4 separate regions of the Homo sapiens genome follow, and regions 1, 2 and 4 are each linked to region 3. Evidence: promoter capture Hi-C in 16 types of primary human blood cells and fetal thymus (Javierre and others, 2016). All regions are on one chromosome and are shown on one strand. The core of a region is centred on a gene start or on the middle of the fragment in contact, and the rest is flanking DNA. Distances in the headings are between cores, read along the strand shown. Region 1 holds the start of APC (APC regulator of Wnt signaling pathway). Region 2 overlaps APC (APC regulator of Wnt signaling pathway). Region 3 holds the start of EPB41L4A (erythrocyte membrane protein band 4.1 like 4A). Region 4 overlaps EPB41L4A (erythrocyte membrane protein band 4.1 like 4A).

The links. Contacts are between HindIII fragments. The CHiCAGO score rates a contact against its expected background, and 5 or more counts as called.
Region 1: a fragment that was not itself captured here is called in contact with the fragment with the promoter of EPB41L4A in region 3 in 1 of 17 cell types (total B cells); the score reaches 5.7 in total B cells.
Region 2: a fragment that was not itself captured here is called in contact with the fragment with the promoter of EPB41L4A in region 3 in 2 of 17 cell types (erythroblasts and total B cells); the score reaches 5.6 in erythroblasts.
Region 4: a fragment that was not itself captured here is called in contact with the fragment with the promoter of EPB41L4A in region 3 in 2 of 17 cell types (endothelial precursors and erythroblasts); the score reaches 8.3 in endothelial precursors.

The regions. Positions count from the first base shown.
Region 1 is chr5:112,733,847-112,739,403 of GRCh38, forward strand. It overlaps APC (APC regulator of Wnt signaling pathway), which reads left to right and starts at 4,039. Exons shown (of 16, transcript NM_000038.6): 1 at 4,039-4,079. The HindIII fragment of the contact is 1,642 bases long and covers 3,458-5,099 here.
Region 2 is chr5:112,761,409-112,767,525 of GRCh38, forward strand. APC (APC regulator of Wnt signaling pathway) reads left to right here. Exons shown (of 16, transcript NM_000038.6): 3 at 4,918-5,002; 4 at 5,781-5,982. Among named protein-coding and RNA genes, the nearest start is that of APC, 27 kb to the left of the region's middle. The HindIII fragment of the contact is 792 bases long and covers 4,472-5,263 here.
Region 3 is chr5:112,417,218-112,423,246 of GRCh38, forward strand. EPB41L4A (erythrocyte membrane protein band 4.1 like 4A) reads right to left here and starts at 2,060. Exons shown (of 23, transcript NM_022140.5): 1 at 1,724-2,060. The coding sequence starts at 1,822. It overlaps EPB41L4A-DT (EPB41L4A divergent transcript), which reads left to right and starts at 2,366. Exons shown (of 1, transcript NR_027706.1): 1 at 2,366-3,761. RefSeq lists a silencer at 2,725-2,814. The HindIII fragment of the contact is 9,034 bases long and covers 1-6,029 here.
Region 4 is chr5:112,161,867-112,167,815 of GRCh38, forward strand. It overlaps EPB41L4A (erythrocyte membrane protein band 4.1 like 4A), which reads right to left. Exons shown (of 23, transcript NM_022140.5): 23 at 753-3,252. The coding sequence ends at 3,124. It overlaps EPB41L4A-AS1 (EPB41L4A antisense RNA 1), which reads left to right. Exons shown (of 3, transcript NR_015370.2): 3 at 285-635. Among named protein-coding and RNA genes, the nearest start is that of SNORA13, 3.4 kb to the left of the region's middle. RefSeq lists enhancers at 3,598-4,275, 4,276-4,953. The HindIII fragment of the contact is 2,122 bases long and covers 190-2,311 here.

The sequences.
Region 1 (5,557 bases), core at 3,029-5,528, 320 kb after region 3:
GTAGAAAGACATGGAATGTTCTTGAGCAAAAGTGTGAAGAACTATTTTGGTGTTTGCTGATTAGAGAGGATATTGGTGAGAGGAAAATTAATTAAGATTCTATTAGATGCTAGGAACACTTCTTTTGAGACTCACTCCTTGAGGTAACATAGAACATACTGGTAAGTCTTGCCCGTAGAAGACTATGAATATATCTCCCAGTCCTGTGTGGCTGCTCACGTCTGTAATCACAGCACCTTGCGAGGCCAAGGCAGGAGGATCACCTGAGGTTAGGAGTTCGAGGTTACAGGGAGCTGTGCTTATGCCACTGCACTCCAGCCTGGGTGACAGAGCAAGACCTCGTCCCTGAAAAAATGGGAGATGGTTAGGTGGATGGATAGACAGACAGACATATAGATAAAGATAGACACGTGGGTCAAGATCTCCCACTTAGTTTATACATCACTGAAAATCTCATTGCCATTGTAACATTTCACCTCGTTCTCGTATCCCATGAAAAATACAGAACCAGTTAGGCACACATCTAACTTATCTCTTCTTAGGCTTTTCCATCGTACCATAACTAACTATAAGATCCGAACACTGAAAGGTTTCTAAATCTGAGCTTTATTTGATGCCTTAGTACCTGTAGAAGTTAAATTTATACTAGTAACTGTTTTTTCAATGCATAATTATTATTTTGAAAGAAAAAAAAAGCTTGTTGATATCTGTAGGCATAACTCTATTCTATGTCTAAGGTCTTCGGTAAAGAGAGACGATTAAGTTTATCAGTAAAGCACCAGAGTCAATTAAGGCGACTGAAAGGAGCACTAATTTTAATTCATTTTACACTAGTTAATATTGTCAATATTCTTCTTGTCAGTTTTTTAAACCAAAAGTCTTAAATTAGGCCAAAAGTGCCTAGGTAAAAATGGAATGGAAAGGGTTTTCTTGTGTGTGTGTGTGTGTTTTTTTTTTTTTTTGAGATAGAGTCTTGCTTTGTCACTGAGGCTGGAGTACAGTGGTGTGATCTCGGCTCACTGCAGCCCCCACCTCCCAGGTCCAAGAGATTCTCATGCCTCAGCCTCCCAAGTAGCTGGGGAATGTAATATTTAAGACATTAAGAATCCTATTAATCCTATTTAGTCATTTTTTTTTGTAGCTGCAGAAGGTTCAGAAGGGTTTTTTAAGTTGAATTATATGTTCATATTTACAACATTTACATATGAAACCATTTACTAAAAGCAATGAAGCTGGTTATAACAAACACTGATACTGAAAATAAGAGATATGTTTGTCAGTGCGGTCTTTAAACAGTGTTACACAATTTATTTCTGTTTCATTTTGATCAGAAAAAATATATATATCTTTTGAGACATGGTCTCTGTTGCACAGGCTGGAGTACAATGGCGAGATCTCGGCTCACTGCAACCTCTGCCTCCTGGGTTCAAGTGATCCTCCCACCTCAGCCTCTAGAGTAGCTAGGACCACAGGCGCGTGTCACCACAGCTGGCTAATTTTTTTGTATTCTTGGTAGAAATGAGGTTTCGCCATGTTGCCCATGCTGGTCTCCAACTCCTGAGCTCAAGTGAACTGGCCACCTCGGCCTCCCAAATTCCTGGGATTATAGGCATGAGCCACTGCACCCTGCCCAGAAAATATTTTTAATGCATACATATATATATATATATATGTATATGTAGTGTAAATAACATCTTCAATCAAATAGAGATGGCAGGAGCTTTATTCTGAGCTATGTGCAAACTTGATAAGACAAGGTAATGCTTCAGTAATTTTCCATGCTGAAATTTGGCCCAGTATACTTTGATTATATATCTATATTTAATTATAGTTTTAAAATAGCTAAGCAGTTTTAAAAATTCAAATTAAACTTTTGTGGAATCTCTAAAAATAAGAAAAATATTACTGAGTAATTGGCAACATAAAATACAAAATGTTTAACTTGGCTTTCTTTTAGATTTGAAGCATAGTGACTAATGAACATATAATGGTCGTAGCTTTCTTTACAACTATGTCATTTAAGTCACTGATGAATATCTATGATACATGCAGTAAAAATTTAGACAAACATTTTGGCTACAAACTGGTTTACTAAATAATAGCTTGTATCATAGTCTGAGTCAAGAGTAATAGGCTTACAATTGTGTCTTAGGGTACTAAGAAGTTCTTTTGAGGACCTTTTAAAAGGTATTCTTTGTTTTGAAAGACTGTTTTCCTTCTGGAAGTTCTAGGCCTTATGAGAAATTACCTATTCTGAATTTGTCACAAAAAATGACTTGTAAATAAGTCCTGTGCAGTGAATCATGTGCTTTCAGTAAGAGGATTTTGAAAGCCTTTTGTAAAATGAAGTCATTCTCAAAAGAGAGTTATTTAGAATATAATCAAATTGATTTACATGCTTTTATTTATTTCAAATATGAAGGGAAATTGTTTCTAAATATATTTAAACTTTTAATAGAACAGTAGTATGCCATCAGTGTGGAAATAACTCACTTGTTAAATAAATATTTGGGGTGTATTTGCTGTATATCAGGCATTGTAACACAGGGACTAATGAAAGAGAAAAAAAACAAAGCACGAAAGGACAGCAGAAATAGCTCCATAATCTCACTTTCCAGGAATAACCTCTATGGACATTTTGTTGTGTGTCTATTGCTTTTCTAATATATACATTTTTTAATCAAATGGAATTGCCTCAAATATGCTATTTAATAGCTTGCTTCTTTTCATACTATTTGAAAATTAAGAAACGATTATAATATGCTTCATTTAAAAACTTTAAGTTTAGGCCGGGCACAGTGGCTCACGCATGTAATCCCAGTACTTGGAGGGACCGAGGTGGGCGGATCACAAGGTCAGGAGATTGAGACCATCCTGGCCAGCATGGTGAAACCCCGTCTCTACTAAAAATACAAAACTTAGCTGGGCATGATGGCACGTGCCTGTAGTCCCAGCTACTTGGGAGGCTGAGGCAGGAGAATCGCTTGAACCCGGGAGGTGGAGGTTGCAGTGAGCGGAGATTGCACCACTGCACTCGCCTGGTGACAGAGCAAGACTCTATCTCAAAAAACAAACAAAGAAAACTTGAAGTATAGTATCCTTTTAAATTTTAAATAGATAATAGAAACTGGTTTCCCCCCATTTAAACCAGAATTTAAGTTTAACTTTATATATTCTTGACAGTTTGGATTTTGTCCTTCAACCTCATAAAATTGGGAATTTAAGCATCACCTGGTTCGATTTAAATGCAATGTAGAATTTGCATTAAAATACTACATTAAAGCCTCAGATTTGTAGTAGCTAACAGCACTTCTATGTATGTGTCAGGGACTGCTCTAAATACTTCATATATATTAACTCCTCTATTCTGTACTTCTGTTCCCGTTTTATACAGCAGGAAATTGAAACACTGAGAGGTTAAGTAACTAAAGTTACAGAGCTAGAGTGACAGGAGTAAAGCTTCAACTCAGGCAACCCAGACTTCCAGAGTTCTGATCTCCACTACTAAGCTGCTAGCATAGCTTTTCTGGTAACTATTTTTAATTCAAATATAATTCGAGTGATCTATCTAACAAGTCATCACTCTGACAACTCAGTGACTTGTAATGTAAAATTATTCATTGTAATTCATTTAATATTATTGTTTCTCTGTGCTGCAAAAATCATAGCAATCGAGATGTAATTTATTACTCTCCCTCCCACCTCCGGCATCTTGTGCTAATCCTTCTGCCCTGCGGACCTCCCCCGACTCTTTACTATGCGTGTCAACTGCCATCAACTTCCTTGCTTGCTGGGGACTGGGGCCGCGAGGGCATACCCCCGAGGGGTACGGGGCTAGGGCTAGGCAGGCTGTGCGGTTGGGCGGGGCCCTGTGCCCCACTGCGGAGTGCGGGTCGGGAAGCGGAGAGAGAAGCAGCTGTGTAATCCGCTGGATGCGGACCAGGGCGCTCCCCATTCCCGTCGGGAGCCCGCCGATTGGCTGGGTGTGGGCGCACGTGACCGACATGTGGCTGTATTGGTGCAGCCCGCCAGGGTGTCACTGGAGACAGAATGGAGGTGCTGCCGGACTCGGAAATGGGGTAGGTGCTGGAGCCACCATGGCCAGGCTTGCTGCGGGGGGAGGGGGGAAGGTGGTTTTCCCTCGCACTGTCTTAAACCGATGGCCTTTCCTTGGCACAGGGTCCACTGCAGCATGCCAAACGAGGAGGCAGGGGCGTCGTCCCCCCGCCCCCCACTGCAGCACTGGAGATGGATTTCCTGTACTTCGGATCCAGGGTTTTTGACAGAAGAGGAAGAAGGGGGAGGGGTAGAAGTGTTAAGGGGAGTCTGCTGAGAAAAGCTGTTTTTGAAGCCAGAAGGGGTTTTTGTTTTTATAATGCCATTTGACAGAGTGGAATAACAGTATCTAAGGAAACGGGTAGAGGACAACAAAGAATGGAGCATATTCATGGCGAGGAGCAAAAGCTCTACCCCATTGAAAGGCTTCTTTTCCTCCCTGGCGACAAGGACACATGCATTGGTGGCCAAAAGAGAGAGGAGACAAAACCGCTGCAGATGGCTGATGTGAATCTAGTGGAAAGAGCTACTGGGGATGAGAGAAAGAGGAGGAGGCAGGTACTGCAGAGCGTGAGTGGTGGTGTTGGTTGGTGAAATACTGGTCACCAGTAGTGTGCCTGCTTTTGTAAAACATCTAAGTAAACTCCCTGTGAACAGGGTGGCAAACAGATACCAGTGTCTTTGTTAGTTACAAAATGCAGTGGTAGTGGCTTTTTGCGGACGACTGCAGCAGTGCTTTTTCTCCCTCTGTTAGGCCGAAAAGACAACTGCAGAGGAATAAGAAACCTTGCAGCAAATGCTGGGGTAGAAGCCCATTTACAAGAAGCCATAGTTTATAAATGCAGCCTGAACAGCAGAAAAAAAATTACTGTTTTTTAAAGTAGGAATAATGTCAGGCTATGAATGTTTTGTCATTGGAATGTATTGGACACTTTGATTCTACATCACGAAAGTGATGCTCAAATTCTTTGATTTAACATAAATCCTATACGAAATCTTAATAAATTATGTATGAAACAGTGGATCTTTTCTTTTGTTAGTGAAGCTTTTATGCCATTAATTAGGTCATTCAAGAGCAAACCACTTTACAACGTAAATTACTTTGTCAAAAATTATGGTGAACAAATTTTTGTAGGCCTAATATTTAAGACCTATAGTTAAGTAATTTTATATTTCTCTTTGGTTGCTTTTAGATAACACTGAATAAATATTTAAGATATTAATTCAGTGTGCAAATATTTTAAATTAAAGCAACATGGCTTTTCTTCTAGATGTATTTCTGTTTAGTGAGTACTCATGAGATATACTCTTGATATAAAGTGTTTTTCATTGAGCTTTTTTTTCCTTTACCTAAATGTAAAAGCCTATCTTTATGCATACTTATAGTAGCCAGCCTGCCACACCTCCCCACTCCCTGAACAAGGATGGCAGTGGCTTTGTAAAGCCCTCCAGGGTCAGTGACAGTGTCTCTTAAATAATGTTTATGTAATAGAAAGTCTTA
Region 2 (6,117 bases), core at 3,618-6,117, 350 kb after region 3:
AAAATTTTGACAGAGAATTGGAGTCTATAATTAAAAGGAATCAAATAGATATTCTAGAACTGAAAAATATATTTGAAATTAACATTGGATGGGCTTAACAGCAGGCTGAACACTGAATTAGTGAACTAGTGAGAAGACAGAATTAGTGAACTTGAAAAAAGATCAGTAGAAAATATTCAAACTGAAGCACAGAGAAAAAAATGGAAAAAACAAAAAAGACAAAACAATGGCTTCTAGAAGAAAACATAGGTAATAGCTTCTTGTCCTGGGAGTAGGCAAAGATGTCTTAAACAGAATGCCAAAGCACCATATATAGAAAGAAATTTGATAGACCTCATTAAAACTAAGAACTCTTGTTCATCAAAAGACTCGAGTGTGCTTCTAGAAGAAAACATAGGATAATCTTATCTATGTGGCCTTGGGTGGGCAAAATTTCTTAGGACACACAAAAGACTAAACATAAAAATGTATAAGATAAACTTCATCAAAATTAAAAACCTGTGCTTTTCAGAAGACTTCATTAAGAAAATGAAAAAGTAAGCCATAGAGGAGAAAATATTTGCAATACATATATCTGACCAAAGGCTCAGTTCAGAATATATTAAGTAATTCCTTCAGAATATATAAATCCCACAAACCAGTAACAAAAAGACAATCCAGTTTTTAAAATGTGACCCAGGGACTTGAAAAGACAATTCAAAAAGAAAGATAAATGGCAGATAAGTCCATGAAAAGGGATTCAGCATCATTTGGCATCAGGGAAATGCAAAGACTATTTCACTCCTACTCAAATGACTGATGTTTAAAAGACTGATCACACCAAATGTGGAGCATTGGAATGCTCAGGCATTGCTGAGAGAAGTATTAAAAACCATTTTGGCAGTTTCCTTTAAAATTAAACCCTATGACTCAGTGTTTGCACTCCTAGAAATGTACTCAAGAGAAGTGAGGGCAAGTGTCCACTAAACGGTACAAGAATGTTCATAGTGACATTCTAAATAATAGCCTGCAGACTGGTAACAGCCCAGATGCCCCTTTAAGAGGAGAAAGGATAGATAAATTGGGCTGTATTTATACAGTGGACTGCTACATACTATACAACATTTAAAAACAATGAACTGATAAGGCAACAGCATGGACAGATTTCACAGATACTATGTTGAACAAAAAAAGTGAGACACAAAATACTTATGTACTGTGTGATTCCATTTATATGAAGGTCAAGAGCATGCCAAACTCTTCTGATAAAGAAGCCAGAATAGTGGTTACCTCTAGGAAATGAAGATTGGTAAAAGGAGCTTGAGGGAACCCTCTGGGGTGCTAGAAATGTATTTTCACCTAGATAGTGATTACATGGGTGTGAAAATTCACTGGATATTTAGGATTAGTGTATTTTACATATGTGTGTTGTGCCTCAATAAAACAGGAAAAAAATTACTTGAGGTCAGTTTTTATTGTGGAATAGCCATAAACTGTTCACAGCAAACTAGTAAATAATGTAGGTCATATTGGATGGTATCATCTTAAGGCAAAGTAACTGGATGTGACTGTAAATTTACACAGATTTTGTTGATGAGGTTCATAACTCAAAGCACTTACAAAAGTAATTTAACACATCATTGGAGTAAGTTAGTAGCTTTCCAAGGTGACTACTTTGGGAATCTTTTTAAAAATTGTTTGACCTTAAATCTTATTTACCTTTATGCTTATAGCTATCAATAGATTTCTAACAATGTGTACAGAAATTTTTAAAAATAGAACTTTATTACAAGTTGAGTATATTCACTATTTTATTAAATTAGGAAGTGTGGACAAAAAAAATCAAAATCAACTATTTTTTTTTAAATTTAAATCCCATCACCAGAGGTAAAAGTAACCTTTGATAGTATATATATATATTCTTTTCTCTATACATTTATGCAAACTTGCATTTGATGACATCATATTTTGCAGGTTTTTTTTTTCTGTGTAATTTATTGTCATCTTACGTCAGATTATGTATTTTACAGTTGCATAGTATTCCATTGTAGGTACAGCTAAAAAATGCTATGGTTTATTTAATACTTATTGTTGGACATCTGAATTTATATGGCTTTTTAATTTCTTTTTTTAGTATTTTAAGTTTTTATTATTTCTTTTTAAAAAGACCATTAATGTACCATTAGTTTTGAAAAAATTAGATGTATGTCCAATGATGTACGAAGGATTTTTTATTTTTAAACTTTTAAATCTTTGTAACTTTTCTAAAAACAAGTAGGATTTTTTCTAATACATATTGTTTAAAAAGTATGACACAACAAGTAAAAAAGAAATTGCTTGTAATTTCAGTCTCCATAGAATAACACTGTTAACATTTTAATGATTCTGCTTTCAGCATCAGCTTCACCTGAGAACTTGTTCAAAATGCAGATTTTCAGCCTCTACCCCAGGCTTACTGAATCGACAGTCTATGTTTTAACAAGGTCTTCAGGTGATTCTGATCCATGCTGACGCTTGAGAACACTACTGTAGGCTTTGGAGAAGAATCTTACAAAGAGAGACCTGATCGGCCGGGCGCGGTGGCTCACGCCTGTAATCCCAGCACTTTGGGAGGCTGACGCGGGCGGATGGTGATGTCAGGAGATCGAGACCATCCTGGCTAACACGGTGAAACCCCGTCTCTACTATACTAAAAAAAAAAAAAAAAAATTAGCCGGGCGTGGTGGCGGGAGCCTGTAGTCCCAGCTACTGGGGAGGCTGAGGCAGGAGAATGGCGTGAACTTGGGAGGCGGAGCTTTCAGTGAGCCGAGATTGCGCCACTGCTCTCCAGCCTGGGCGACAGAGCGAGACTCCGTCTCAAAAAAAAAAAAAAAAAAGAGACCTGATCACAGCTGTGCCTTAAAAAGGCTGCTCTGACAGCTCTGTGCAAGGTTGAGCCACTTGGGAAATTATTTTCATAGTTTAGGTAGGGTTAATAACAAGATAGTGGCAGTAAGAATATGAAAGAGATAGCTGTAAGAGAGCTAATAGAGGTAGAATCACCAGAAATCCATAACTGGGAATGTGAAGGAAGAGGTGCTAAGGATTTGAGCTGGAGGAGAAAGAGAAGGCTAATGCCATTTAACTGAGAGAATACAAGGCAAAGAATAGGCTTTATTGGTACAAAATGTTAGTTCAGTTCTGGACATTTAGATGTATGGTACCTGTCATACAGATGTAAAGCATCCATCAGTTGGTTGGAAAAGTGAGTCTGAAGTTTGCAAGTGAAGTTAGGATTCGAGACATGTCATTGGAAATTAACTGCTCAAGGGTAGTTGTTGAATTGTGAGACCGGAAGCCTGAGAAATAAGGATAAGATTAAAAAAGGATTATTGAAGGACTAAAACAGTAGCAATGGATGGAAAGAGAATTGGAATCCTGGAAAAATCACAGGTAGTCTCCAATGAGAGTTCTTAAATGGAAGAGATGGTGCCCTGAAGTTTATAGTAGACATTTTGATGGGCATATTCAAATTCAGTAAAGGAAGTTATCACTGAGCAAATTTGTTTTCTATTCCACAAATGTAAAACACTCTGGAATATTTTGAAAATAATACAGTCACCTTCATGCCCCCACATCTACTTACCAAAGCCTTTCAAACTCCAACATAGTCTATTATTTTGAAGGTCAGATACTAAGGCTATTTATTAAAAGGAATTCTGGGGTTTGGGGGCGATTTCTTTGTTTCTGTTTTTTTAGCTGAGGTCTCACTCTGTCCCCCAGGCTGGAGTGCAGTGGTGAGACTGTGGCTCACTGCAGCCTCAAACTTCTGGGCTCAAGTGATTCTCCTGCCTCAGCCTCCCAAGTAGCTGGGACTACAGGCACATGCCACCACTCATGGTTTTTGTTTGTTTGTTTTTTTAATTTTGTAGGGACAGAGTCTCGCTATGTTGTTCAGGCTGGTCTCAAACTCCTGGACTCAAGTGACCTTCCTGCCTTAGCCTCCCAAAGCGTTGAGGTTACAGGCATGAGCCACCATGAATGCTTACAATGTCACTGTCAAGATAAATCAGTGAAACCGTCTTTGCTCCAGTCACTCACTTTTTGACAGGTTTTCCTTTTAATGTATTTACAGATTACTTTTCTTATAGGGGAACGTTCCATTTAGTTACAAAGTTGCAAATGTTCAAATATTTTGTCTTGCATTCAGGAAACCTGATTGGCCAAAGAACTATGCTAGGAGCTAGAATGGAATGCCTCAGTAAATGGAAAATAATATAAATTATTATTAAGTAGCATGCAATAAGAGCCAAAGTTCACAAATGTAATGGCAGAAAAACTGGTAGAAAATGAAAATTTCCAACATTCTTTGAGAAAAAATGATCAAGAAAGGGATTACATGGGAAAGAAGAAAAGCATCAAAAGTCAAGAAGTAGTGAACATACAGTCATTTGAATGTATGCTAATTGTAAATTAGTATACTAGCAGAATATACTTAAATGTGGTATATAAAAGCTTGAATGTTGAAGTTGTTAAATAGATTATGTGTTAATTTGGTGTTTTTTATGGTCATGTTGGTGCACGCTTAAGAGACATGGATTCTAAACACATAAGTAGCTTTTGTAACTTGAGCAAGTCTCTGGGTCTCACTTGTTTTATCTGAAAAATGAGAATAATTTGCATTGTTGGTTTTTAGGTTTGAAATAATGAATGTATCTTAAATGTGTTTCTAATACCTTGCACAGAGACTCCCCATAATCACCATTATCTCAAAATATCACTATTATTATTTGGCCATGATTTATTTATTAATAATGAATAATAGGTAATATATATAAGGTGCGTGCTTTGAGAGTGATCTGAATTTTTTTCTCAGCATACTTAAATGTCAAGAAATACAGAATCATGTCTTGAAGTTATTTAGAATTTCATGTTAATATATTGTGTTCTTTTTAACAGGAAGTACTTAAACAACTACAAGGAAGTATTGAAGATGAAGCTATGGCTTCTTCTGGACAGATTGATTTATTAGAGCGTCTTAAAGGTAGATTTTAAAAAGGTGTTTTAAAATAATTTTTTAAGCTCAAATTGTCATCTTTAGGTGTGTAGATCCAAGTACAGCTTCTCTCGATTTGGGTGTTGGTATCAGTTTTCTTGGTATGTTAGCCTTACCCTCAGGATGTAATTGTTAAAGTACAAATAAATAAAAAATGTATTTGTGTGTCATTTCTTCAGTTAAACATTTAACTGGCTTTGAATGAACTATTTTAAATCCCTCCCTTAAATAATTTTCGGCTCTTTGTAAAGCTTGTTGCTATTCTGCCAGTCACTAAATAGGGCTTTAGTATTCTATATGCCATAGACTTGAGCCTACTGTTTCATTGGAAGAAGTATTGTCTTCTTCATTCAGGATAGAAATACTTTAACCTTTTCACATATATAAGTTGATTATAATTCATTTTTAGCAGTTTTAAAAGGATATCTTTCTCATTCTGTTGCTTGAAAATTCCAGTGTCAGAACAGAGAAAGTGCTTGATAATAATTGAAGCCAGACAGAGAAATTACTTTTGGATTCTAAAATATTATTTAGAGGAAGTCTAAGGAAGTACATTTTATCTAATTTTCCTTTAACACACTCCTTATTTTTACCCTGACCCAAGTGGACTTTTCAGGGAAAGTCCTAAATAATTTTTGTTTTCAGTCATGTATATTTGTGGTTAAAATGTAAACCTAATATTTCACTTTAAAATAATATAACATTAAGAATATTTTAGACTGCTTAAAGCAATTGTTGTATAAAAACTTGTTTCTATTTTATTTAGAGCTTAACTTAGATAGCAGTAATTTCCCTGGAGTAAAACTGCGGTCAAAAATGTCCCTCCGTTCTTATGGAAGCCGGGAAGGATCTGTATCAAGCCGTTCTGGAGAGTGCAGTCCTGTTCCTATGGGTTCATTTCCAAGAAGAGGGTTTGTAAATGGAAGCAGAGAAAGTACTGGATATTTAGAAGAACTTGAGAAAGAGAGGTAACTTTTCTTCATATAGTAAACATTGCCTTGTGTACTCCAGTTTATTGTTATTTTGTAATATAATATTTAAATTGTGAATTTATAGTAGGTGATAGCTAACACTTAGAGCATTTTGCATTTTTAAACTCAAAG
Region 3 (6,029 bases), core at 810-3,309:
TGATTCATGTTTCTTTGACAAAATTATTCCATTTGATCCCAAGTCCTGGCTGCTCTCTTGACAGAATAATGTACACGCTCTACAGCTGATAGGCATGACTTTGATGATTAAATAGGAAGCTCACATTCCAGATGACTTTAGACTCCAGATAATTTAGACTTTGCACTTCAAAAAGATTTCTTTACTGTCTTAGTATCTGATCATCAGTTACCTTTTTCTAATTGTTTCTATCTCGACACAAGAATCTATATATTATCTACAATTTAGGATGTTTTTGTGATTTTTGCCTATTTTATTCATACAGTACACCAAAGAATGTTACATCATCTTGTAAGTTACAATATTTTCCTGATTTCATTGGGCGGGTGAGAGGAGAAATATTTTGGAACATAAAGAAAAGTTAAAAATACAAAATGTACACCCTCCCCGAAAAGAGTCTATTTTATTGGTCTTGAAAGGAAATACCGAATGAGAATCGAACTGAATTTTGCTCAGTATAATTACTGGGGAAACAATATTCAAAACAACCTCCTAAAGGAAAGGGTTAACAATCTTGTAGCTTTAACTGATTATTTTTGCTCCTTTCTCCCGCAAAAGAATTACACCTATGAAACTGGAATTCTGTACACTAAGAATGGCAACATTAACGCTGAAACTTTTAGCCAGGAATAGTTATCCTAGTGTGCATAAAACTATGTAAAAACTGATTCACAAAAGGAAATGCCCAGGGCCTACCCCATTATGATTAACTTCTGAGATGAAGCGACTAAGAGAGGATACTTGGCAGCCTGAACTCGATTTCTCAGAAAGCCAGCTCTATCAGAGCGGGGGCGGGGGGGCGGTTTCCCTTCACCAGACTCAGCTGTTGCCTTATCTAAAATGCCTTAGCGATCTAAAACTGAAAGAGAAAGATAAACAAAACAACAAAACGCTCCGGATTTAGATCTCCTTTAGGTAGTTAACACTGTTGCAAAAGCAAAACAAGCACGCAGGCGCGTCGGTCAGGTTGTCACTACAAACATACGTACCTTCTCATCCAATGTAAGGAAGAGGATCTCTGCGAGCTCTGCTGCCTTTTTGTTTGGGCTCTCTAGGTTAATGTAGTGATTGCATTTTAATGACCCACAAACAGGAGCAAAGTTATTACTGGGTCGCTTTGAGAGATGTTTACTTAAATGTGAGGATAAACCCAGGTCGCTGTAGAAAGGGAAAATATTTTCCGTCCAAACGTAGCATTACCCAACTACGAACCCACGCAAAACAATCACAATGACCCATTAATGCGTTTCAACGAGTGAACTAGTTCACTTCCCTAATAACACTGTCAAGGAAAACGCCTTCAACAAAGTCGAGGGAAACCATGCCTTCCACACTGGTGGGACGCAGCTGGTATAACCCATTCTGCCCCTCTTTGAGAGCTGCGGGGCACCCAGAGGCTTTTGGAGAAAACCGGTTTGGGGAAGAGTTTTGGGGTGCTGCTGGGAGCCGGTGTGCTGAGTAAACTTAGAAACGTCAAACTCAACTTTGCTTTATGAAGGAACTCAAAGTTAACTCACCCTGGTACGTCCACCCTCTCCCTGCGCGCAGGGGACAGCGGCCTCTCCTCCCCACCGCGCAGAGTCGCGGCCGCCGCCCTCGACCCACCGGTGACAGCCCTCAAAGCGATGGACCCCCGCACCCGCCCTGCCGCCAACCCCCGGAACGCGCTCCGGGCCGCACCCACCTTGATGCCCTGCTGCTGGGTGGTAAGGGTTAACTTGGATTCATCCAGGAGCAAAACTTCGCAGTAAAATTCTTCCGGAACAGCGCAGAAACAGCCCATGTCGGTTGTGGTCGTCTCCAGCCAGGAGAGAAAGCTACCACCGAGGCGCCCAGCCGCCCCCTCCACTCAAGCGCGATGCATTAATTTATTGTCCGCGCCGTGGCGAGGGTGAGACGAGCAGCTCCCGGCGGGGTCCGGGGACCGGCCGCCGAACCGCCCGGCGGGGCGGGAGCGAGAAAGGCGGAAAAGCCCGGGAGAGTCAGCGCCCGGGAGCCGCCGGGGAAGCGCCGGCGGAACTGGGCGCGGAGGGCGGTGGCGCGTCCCCGCGCATCCTGCGGCTCGAGCTCCTCCGAAGGCGGGGGCGCGGGGCCCCTCCCGCAGTCCTGGGGACGACAAAAGTCTCCTGGCACTGGGGGCAAGAGACCAGAAAAAGGAGTGATGGGAATTCGAGGCTCTCCCCGGCCTTGGAAAACCCTGGAAGCGCTGCACCTCCCTCCTGCCGCACGGATTTGAGCGCGGCCCCGACGTCCTGGCGTCCGATCGGCCTGCGGAGTCCCCCGCGGGCGCGCACTTCCAGCCGCGACCCCGCCCCGCAGCCCCGGGTCAGATCCGCCGAGTATGAAGCGCTCGGCTTTTCTTTTGTGTGAGGAGCACCCACGACGCCCCGACCATGGGCGCAGGGGCAGAGGCGAAGGTCGTCGCTCCGTCCGCTACCCCGTCCCCCAGCCGCAAGCGCCGAGGAGCCGGAAGAGAGGCGGAAAGGGCAGCAGGCTCCTTACCCAGACCAGCGAGGGGAGGTCAGCTCGTCGCGGGGTGTGGCTCCCGTCCGGGGACTCCCGAGCTCATTACGGGTGGCCGTGTGTAGCCAAGTTCAAGCTCTCCCTCCGGGAATGCCTGCCGCGGCGGCGGAATACGGCTTCTTCAGGACATTCAGCAAAGCGGGGAGGCGGGGACCTGCGGGCGGAGGAGCGACGCCCCAGCTGGGAACGCGGCGGACGGGCGAGCGGGGGGTGCGCCCTGGGCGCGCCAGGCCGCAGAGGCTCCGGGGAAAGTTCTCTTGGCCGCGCGAGTGGTGGCGCCCCGGGCGGGAGCAGCCCAGGTGCATGTGGGCCCGGTCCAGGCGTCTGCAAAAAGCCCTGGAACGAAGCGGACCCCCCAGTCCAGCGCTGGCCGCGGCAGGGGAGCCCCTTCTGGGCGGGGTATCAGCTGGGGGCGGAGGGCGGGGCAGAGACCGTGGTCCCAGCGGCGAGGTGCCGGCGAGTCCACGCTGCCAAGCCGCACACTGCGCCCAAGCCGCGGGGCAGTCCAGCGCTCGCTGCGTCCTTCCCCCGAGAGACCTGGAGGCTGGGTGGGGAGAAGAGGACGCGGTGCTGCTCGGACCCCACGGTTCGGCGGTCCCAATCCCACGCCCTCCGCGCGGTCGGCCGCGTCCAGGACTGAGGGGCACAATAGCTCTGAAGCTGCAGTGACCCCTGGTGGGTCCCGATGTCCGTGCACAGGCAGCCGAGGTTGAGCTGCGGACGACACTGAGCCCCGCTGGGCTTCGGAGCAGGTGCAATCTGTGCTCTCCAGCTGGGAACCAGCAGCGAGTTAATGCGAGTCGCAGTTAGGGGAGACACGAGGGGAGGTGTCACAGAAAAAAAACTCTATATTGAGTTTTAGAGTTAGAGCTTTGGCATCAGACGTAGTTTTGAGTTGACTATTCTACTGCTTGTTAGCTGGGTAGCCAAAGCTCAAAAAAAATTGCTTAAAACCTAGGACGTTAGCCCTTAAAACAAAACCAGGCTTCCGTAGCACAGTAGAAATGAAATGAACAATTGGCGACTTTTGATGGAGTTTCCTCTCATAGTGATTTGCCACAAAGGACCTTCTGTAGGAAGCCTCGGCCTTCCCTGCTATTGTGACCCCATCCAAACACAGGATCAGCATAACCGCCAAAGTGCAATATAAATTTCTGAACTTTACCTAGGCTATGAATAAAACTATTTTATCTTCTGAATTTTCTGTGAAATTGACTCAGGTTTTGAATTTCTGATCAAATTTCGTGTCCAGCTTTGTTTTATTGTCAAAGTCTTGCCTGCCTTATGAGGTGACACCTTATTATGCTAGATTTTAGCATTTCTGCTTGTAGAGGCTTTTCTTTTCTGTAATACAGTATTCCTGACAGGAGTTACCAAATGTGATTGAAAGATGGCTTAACATTTTCATTCTTTACCTCCATATCCAACCGAGACACTTGAGGCTGCAAAAACAAAAGGTTCAAGCAATCATCTGTTCCCAGTTTTTTTGAGTTTTGCTCTCACCTGTTTTTTGGCCCTTTGATTTGGTTTTTTTGCTTTCTGATTTTTGGTTTTGCTGTTGTTTGTTTTTGTTTTTTTACCTCCAGTGGCAGTGAGAAGGCTGAGGGTTTTGGATGGGCAGGGATTCTGTTCCCAGCTCCTCATAAGGTAAGTTACAAAGCCATAAGGTCCCATACATATGACACTCTTTCCTGAGTGAAGCATTTTCTTTTCCATTTCTTTATCGGAGACTGGAGAAAAGAACATTTAAAATCTATTTAACACAAAATTAGAGATTACTAGTGACAAGAGGATTCCACAGAGTTTCTAAGGATAGCTTTATTGCATATAATTTACATACAGTTCACTGCATAATTTTTAAGTGTACAATTTGATAAGTTTTGACATAAGTGTGCACCCATGAACCCACCACCATAATCAAGCTAGTACACATATTCATCCCTCCCTAAGGTTTCCTCCTGCACTTTGTCATCTTTCTTTTTTTTTTTTTTTTTTTTGAGACAGAGTCGCGCTCTATCAGAGTGCAGTGGCGCGATCTCGGCTCACTACAACCTCCACCTGCCGGGTTGGAGCAATTCTCCTGCCTCAGCCTCCCAAGTAGCTGGGACTACAGGAGTGCGCCACCATGCCCTGTATTTTTAGTAGAGACAAGGTTCCACCATGCTGGCGAGGCTGGTCTCAAACTCCTGACCTCATGATCCGCCCGCCTCAGCCTCCCAAAGTGCTAGGATTACAGGTGTGAGCCACCGCGCCTGGCCACTTTGTCATCTTACACTCCCATTCCTCAGTACGACTCACCTCCCAGGCAACCATAGATCTGCTTTCTGTCACCATCATTTAGCTACATTTTCTAGAGTTTAATACCAATTGAATCATACAGTGTGAACTCTCCTTTTTGTCTGGTTTGTTTCACTGGACACAACTGAGATTTAACCATGCTGTTGTGAATATAAATAGTTCATTTATTTTTATTGTTCAATAATATTCCATTGTATGTATATACCACAATTTGTTTTTCCATTCATTTAGGTGGTTTCCAGTTTTTGACTATTACAAATAAAGCTGCTATGGGGATTGTATTAGTCAGCTCAGGCTGCTATAACAAAATACAGCAGACTGGATGGCTTAAACAACAGACATTTATTTTCTCACAGTTCTGGAGCCTGGAAGTTCAAGACTACTGTGCCATCATGGTCAGTTTCTGGTGAGGCACCTTCCTGACTTGAAGGAAGGCTCCAGGTTACTGTGTGCTCACATGACATCTTTGTGTGCTTTCAGAGAGAAGGGGAAAGGGAAGAGGAATAGAAGGAGAAGAGAGGGAGAAAAGGAGGGTGAGACAGAAATATTAAGGAGGGTTGGGGAGAGAAAGACACCAAGATAGCACCCTCGGGTCGATTATTACAAGAACATTAATCCTATGGTATCAGGGCTCTACTCTTAGGATCTCATTTAACTTTAATTGCCACCTTATAGACCCTATCTCTAAACAGTCACATTGGGTTAGGGCTTCAACATATGAATTTTGAGGGAACACAATTCAGCCCATAGAAAGGATCCATGTCTTTATATGTACATGTGCTTTTGTTTCTTTTGTAATACAGAGTAGAATGACTGGATCAGAAGATATACAACTGGCAAATAAACACATGGAAAGATGATCAACATCATTAGTCACTAGGAAAATGCAAATTAAAATCACCATAAGATACCACTAGACACCTAATAGAATGGCTACCAAGCTACCATATCACTAAGTGTGGGTGAGGATGTGGTGCAATTTTTTTTTTCTTTTTTTGAGATGGAGTCTCGCTCTGTCACCCAGGCTGCAGTGCAGTGGCACAATTTCAGCTCACTGCAACCTCTGCCTCCCGGGTTCAAGCGATTCTTCTGCCTCAGCCTCCTGAGCAGCTGGGACTACAGGCGCGTGCCACCACGCCCAGCTAATTTTTGTGCTTTTAGTAGAGACG
Region 4 (5,949 bases), core at 1-2,500, 260 kb before region 3:
GTACATTCGTAGTGTTGCTCTGTCTGTAGCTATTAAGGTGAGTTAATAAATGGGATAGCCTCCACAGCTTATTTTTGGGAAGGTTTTGCTGATACTTCCTGAGAAGCCCAGGGAAATAAATACGCATAGTACTGGCATTCTGCATCTCTTTAAGATTTGTTTTTATGTGTAGTAATTGAGTTTTTTAAAAGCTTGTGAAATCGCAGGCATATTACCAAGTTCTTGATTAAAATGTAATACAAAAATATTTGCTGTCGAATTGAGTACTTTATTTTTTCTCTTAGGATGTCCTTGGTGAGGATTTTGAAAATTTGATCTTCACAAGAGTTGCCTGGATCATTTGAAATTTCTGGGAGTCTGAGGAGTACTGACATAATTACCTGCTGGAGTCTGTAAATACACATTTAAGACAGTGAGGATGTGAATAAATATATTAATGCACTTTGGCATTTGTGTTTTAAGTGATTAACTGCCAGAAACAGCTATTTCTAAAAAGTTATAAGGGAGGAGGGGTTCTTTTTTGATCAGTATTCACTGCTGTCACCATAATTAATAGCCTTAAAATAGCTTGTGTTTGGCCCAAAGAGAAATGTACTTTCTTCCAGTGACTCAAAAATCGTGGCTAGAACTAGACTGATTTCTAGTGACAGGTGTGCTTTACTGCACTCAATGCGTATTTTTCCTCCAACTAAATTGTACATTTAATGTTGCCATATCTTCTGCCTTTGCTTTGCAGGAAACGACAAATAATGTATAGAGGTATTCAAAAAATTTATTGAAAGCACTGTACTAGGAGCTGAGAACACGATGATGAGCACAACACAGTTCTTCCCTTTGGAAACATAGATAAGTGGAGGGAATGTCATCACAAATGTAAAACTTCACTATGAGATGAGTTCCGTGATAGGATTTTCTTAGGGAAACCTGAGAAAGAGTTGAGACTAAAGGTATGTGTCATATTTTTCACAAGGCAAAACTGGGGGAATGACATATACAGAGGCTTGGGCTAGAAAAAAGATACCGTTAGTCCACTTACTTTTGAGACAGTTTTGGCTGCTTTCCCTCTTCAGTGCCCTGTTTTAGAACTGAGTCCTTACTGAGGCTTGTAAGATGGCTATTATGGGAGGTGAGAGTGTTACAAAATGAGGCTGAAGAGGTAGGTAAAGAAGCCAGACCACTTCAGGCTCCCTCTGGCTTTATTAAAGCAAGATAAATCCATGGTGGAAAATCAGATTTGCAAGAAAAGGTAGTTGAACTAGGTTGCTTATTGTTGTCTAGACAAGAGACCAGCTTGGACTAGTAAAATTAGTGAAATAAGATCGTTTATAGTTGGATGACAGAGCCAACTAGACGTGGTAATAGTGGAGGTGTCCATAACTGCTAGGTGTCCAGCTTGCACACTGATGAGCATAATGACCCTAGATTCAGCTGGGGAGCAGCATTTAAACAGCTGAATTTTTAAATTACCTTTGAGAAACCCAAATGGTCTTTTTGCAGTAGCACATTACTCAGTAGTCTAAACTACAGAAATAAACCTTAAGGCCATGGGTATAAATGAGATCTGCTGGTGGTAGAGGAAGAGGGCCTAGGGTCTGAAGTTTGAGAAACTCCACTAATTAATGGCAAGGTAAAGCATGATAAGCCAGAAAGGATGGTCAGTGGTAGGAGCAAAATAGGATTATATTAAAGAAGCAAAAGAATGTCCTAAAAATTCTCCCTGGGATTAAGTAACACAGTGATTGATATTAGTGGAGTAGAGGGAAAGATCCATGTTAGAGATAGCTTAAGATAGGGATTAGATGAATTGAGGGCAATGACTAAAGATACTGCTTGCAAGAAAACTGGCTGAGAATGAGAGGAAAATCTTAGTTGCTTGGCGGGAGGGGGTTTGTGGTTGTGAAAGATAGTTTTGTTTAATCTTAGTCTTAAATTTAAAACCAAGTAGCAAGGATCTAGCTGAGAGAATAATTGAATACATTAATATAGGAGGACAGACAAAGATCCTGAAAAGGCTGGGAGAAGAGCATCCAAAGCACAGGTGGAGAGACAAAAAGGTTAGGGCTGCTGGCAGCTGTGGAGAGAACTGTACGTGGTAAGGGGGAGATATAAGATGTCCTGCATAAGTATTTTCCCTGTAGATTGCAAAGTCATCTATGGAGAGGAAAGGTACAAAATAGTCACTGGGGAGAGCAGGTGAATTAGATGGCCAAGCAGGGTGGATGGATCATTTGAGGTTTGGGGTGACAGATCAACTGAGATCCACTTACACTTCTGAAAACGCAAGAACACTTTAGAAATTAACAACACTTAAAGCTTTTTACATCATTTGTAAATAACTGGTGGAACTTAACACCACAAAATAAAGTATTATAAAGAACTTTATATGAATAAAAATATATGCAGTCTGAAAGTGATGCCTCAGTCCTTTTGCATCTGGGCACTAGTTGAGAACCAGCCCAGCCCTGGGAAGACGTCCTCCCACTTGTACTATTGCACAGCAGGCTAGCTGCAGTTCAGAATTCCAGAATGTTCATCAGATGCATCTGGTCTTGGTTGTGGTGGACACAGACACAAGATAGAAATGAATGATTGCTATCCTGTTCCAGAAATGAAAATGTGGTATCAAGTGAATTTTTACAAAATACTTATTCTTCCAGTTAAAACAAAAAGGTCCTTCAGCACAACTGTGCTGTAGTTAAACCATGGCCTATAATCCCAGCACTTTGGGAGGCTGAGGCAGGCGGATCACTTGAGGTCAGGAGTTCGAGACCAGCCTCCAACATGGCAAAGCCCTGTCTCTACTAAAAATACAAAAAGAATTAGCCGGGTGTTGTGGTGCACGCCTGTAATCCCAGCTGCTCGGGAGCCTGAGACAGGAGAATCGCTTAACCCAGTAAGTGGAGGCTGCGGTGAGCTGACACGGTGCCGCTGCACTCCAGCCTGGGCGACAGAGTGATAACATCTCAAAAAAAAAAAAAAAAAGAAGCAAAAGATAATGTATTTTCTCATGCTGAAGAAATACTTGCAGGTCTGAGATTTGAATTAAGATACCTATTTCACAGTTTCAAAAGTACCAGTGGCGCACACAACCTTCCCACCCCTACCCTTGACCCTTCATCAGGATCAAGTCTCTGTCTTGAGGCGGGAAGCTTGTATAGTTTTTATTGTTTTTGCTGTGTGTTTTCCAGCCAGGTTGTTTGTAGATGTCTGAGGTTTTTCTTCCATCAGGCTATCTTTAGACCCATTTCTTCTCTAAAATATATTTGAAAAATGTAGAAAGATTCAGAAGAAAACAGCCAAATGAAGTATTTTAATTACATCAGAAACCAAGCTGCTCTTAAATTTAAGATACTGAGTTAATTCAAAAGTTTCATAATACCAAAAGCTATTCAATAAATGTTCCCTCTAAATAGCTGTGCAAAATAAAGTTTGTATTTAAACTTTAATATACAAAGTTAGTCTGACATTTACATGCATAACGATTTTATTCATGAATATTAGGCATAATTCACCCAAATCAGTGTCATTACTTTTGTTAACAATTCCCAAACCAGGCTCTCAACCTCACTCTTCCAAACAGGATAGTGATGGAGACTTGGAGGCAATTTATAATCCCCTGATTATATTTTCAGTAGTCAATGAATGGAACAATGTCTTGTGAGCCCCTATCACTTGTCTCATACGGAGAAACAGGGCAGCTCATTACCAGAGCCTGGGCACCACATCCACTAGTTTGTAAAACTTAGGTTTTACACATCTCCCATCATCACTGGTGGAGGCTCTGAGAATGACACTAACTCACAACTACTACTTCTTATGCGAACCCCTCCTCCTCTTACTTCCAAGGATGGTCTAACATTGTCAGTGTATCAGGCTGGCAAGCATATTTCCTTCCCCAAATGTATATTCCCATAAATAATGGGCTATACCGTCCCAATCTATTTTGAGATTTGTTTGAGCTAAAAATAAATAAATCCCTCTTAAAATGCAGCTACCTTTAATCTGTTCCTATGACTGGCTTAATTTGTTTTACTGACATTCAAAAAGCACTGATGGAATAATTATTCTGCCTATCATGGGAAGCATGAACCCATCTATTTGGGATGGAAGATTTCTAGATAGCCAGAGGTGGGAAGAGAACACCAGTGAATGTGAGAGGAGAATACAGCAGAAGAATTACCAGAAAAAAAGTGCTAGGAGAGGACCTGAAATAAGTACTATGTTGTAAGTTTGTCTAGGATTGAATCTGTCCACTCTGCAGACCTTAAGAAATTAAGTTGCTATTCTTCCCCATTCTTAGCAGCCTTTGCGTGAAAAGGCAAGGTGAGGTGTAAGGCAGGTCACTGCCAGAACTCTGGTGGCATTGTGGTGGAAATTAGAACTTAAAGTTGTACCTTAAAAATGTACCTTTCCAGCTTCCACTGGTCACTCCAGCCCCTTCTCCGCTTGGCAGCCAGATGAGTGGCTTCCTTTTAGCACTTGGAATAAAACAGTAAGATCCAAACGCTTCCCACAGCCTTTAAGTCCCTGTGTTATCTGCCTTTCCCCTCAAGCTCACTGCATGTTGGTCTTTCAGCTCCTCAAATACCCAGGCCCTCTCCAGAGTCAGCATTTTCCCTACATTCCTCACTCTGATTACATCAGCCTTGCAGCCACTCACATGGCTAGCTCCTCACCTGCCAGGTCTCAGCTTTAAATGCCACTCTCTGAGATGGCCTCTGACCACCCTAAACATGTAAAGTGAGGTCACTTTGTTGCTTCTCTAGCTCAGGCATTTCTTTGTAATGCATACTCCTATTTGTTTTAACTGTTTACTTTTATGCCTCCAGGTCTAGGCTAGGGTCATCAAACTTTTTTATAAAGAGCCAGACTGTAAACTACATCCTGTTTGTGTCACGTGTTACTGTTATTTTGTTTTGCTTTTAAACAACCCTTTAAAGGTGTAAAAACCATTACTGGCTTCTGGGCTGTACAAAGGCAGCAGACTAGATTTGGCCCTTAGGCCATGGTTTGCTGATTGCTCAGACCAGTGCTCAACACTCCTTAGATGGGCTCACTGGATATTTACTGAATTCAAAATCAAGAGTGTCCTGGAGACAGGCTTAGAATCAGTGCCACTGATCAGAAGATGCATGTGAGTTCTTGTATCCCGCAAAGTGAAAGCTATTCTTCCAACTTAGAATATGTGTAAGTTTTTTTAATTCCTGAGTGGAAATAAAAATTACTACTTGTATTGAAACCAACTAAAATTTAAGACAAAAAAAAAAAAAAAAACACCGAAAGATAACTGCTTATTAATCATCACAATAACCCTAGGAGGTAGGTTATCTACACTGTATAAAAATTGAGGCTTAGAAGTTTAGCAGTATTAAAGTTACACAAGTAGTACACAGAGATGAAACACAAATGATTCAGGTCAGTCAGAATGCAAAGCCTAAACTTAATCATGAATATAATTTTGAAAAAGTACTGTCAACTTTAAACCAATCGTCTATTTGGACAACCTATTAGCTCTCCCAGGCTGATCTCATCAAATATTATGCAGATTATAGTAGAAGCTGCGTTTACCATGCAGATCGCCATTCTAGACTGAGGCATTCATTCTCTAGCTGCTGGGAGTGTTGCCTGCCGTGTAGCTCAAAACTGAGCCCCTCCCCAGGAACTGCCCTCAGTTGAAGAGAAATCCCCCTTCCCAGAACATCCCTTACCCAGTGACTTCTATGGGGTGAGTGTGAATGTGTAAAAGTTCAACCCCCTTGTCCCAAAGTAGAATGAATTTGAAGAGCCATCTCAGCTCTAGAGCTCCCTGTGCGGATCAGCTCTTGCCTCTGCCCAAACCCGTCTTTGACTTTCTCCCCAACAACTATGGATCCCGTGGGCACTTTCCAACAAGCTTCCTGCATGCAGATCTCCATTTCAGAATCTATCTAGGGAACCTAACCTAAATTA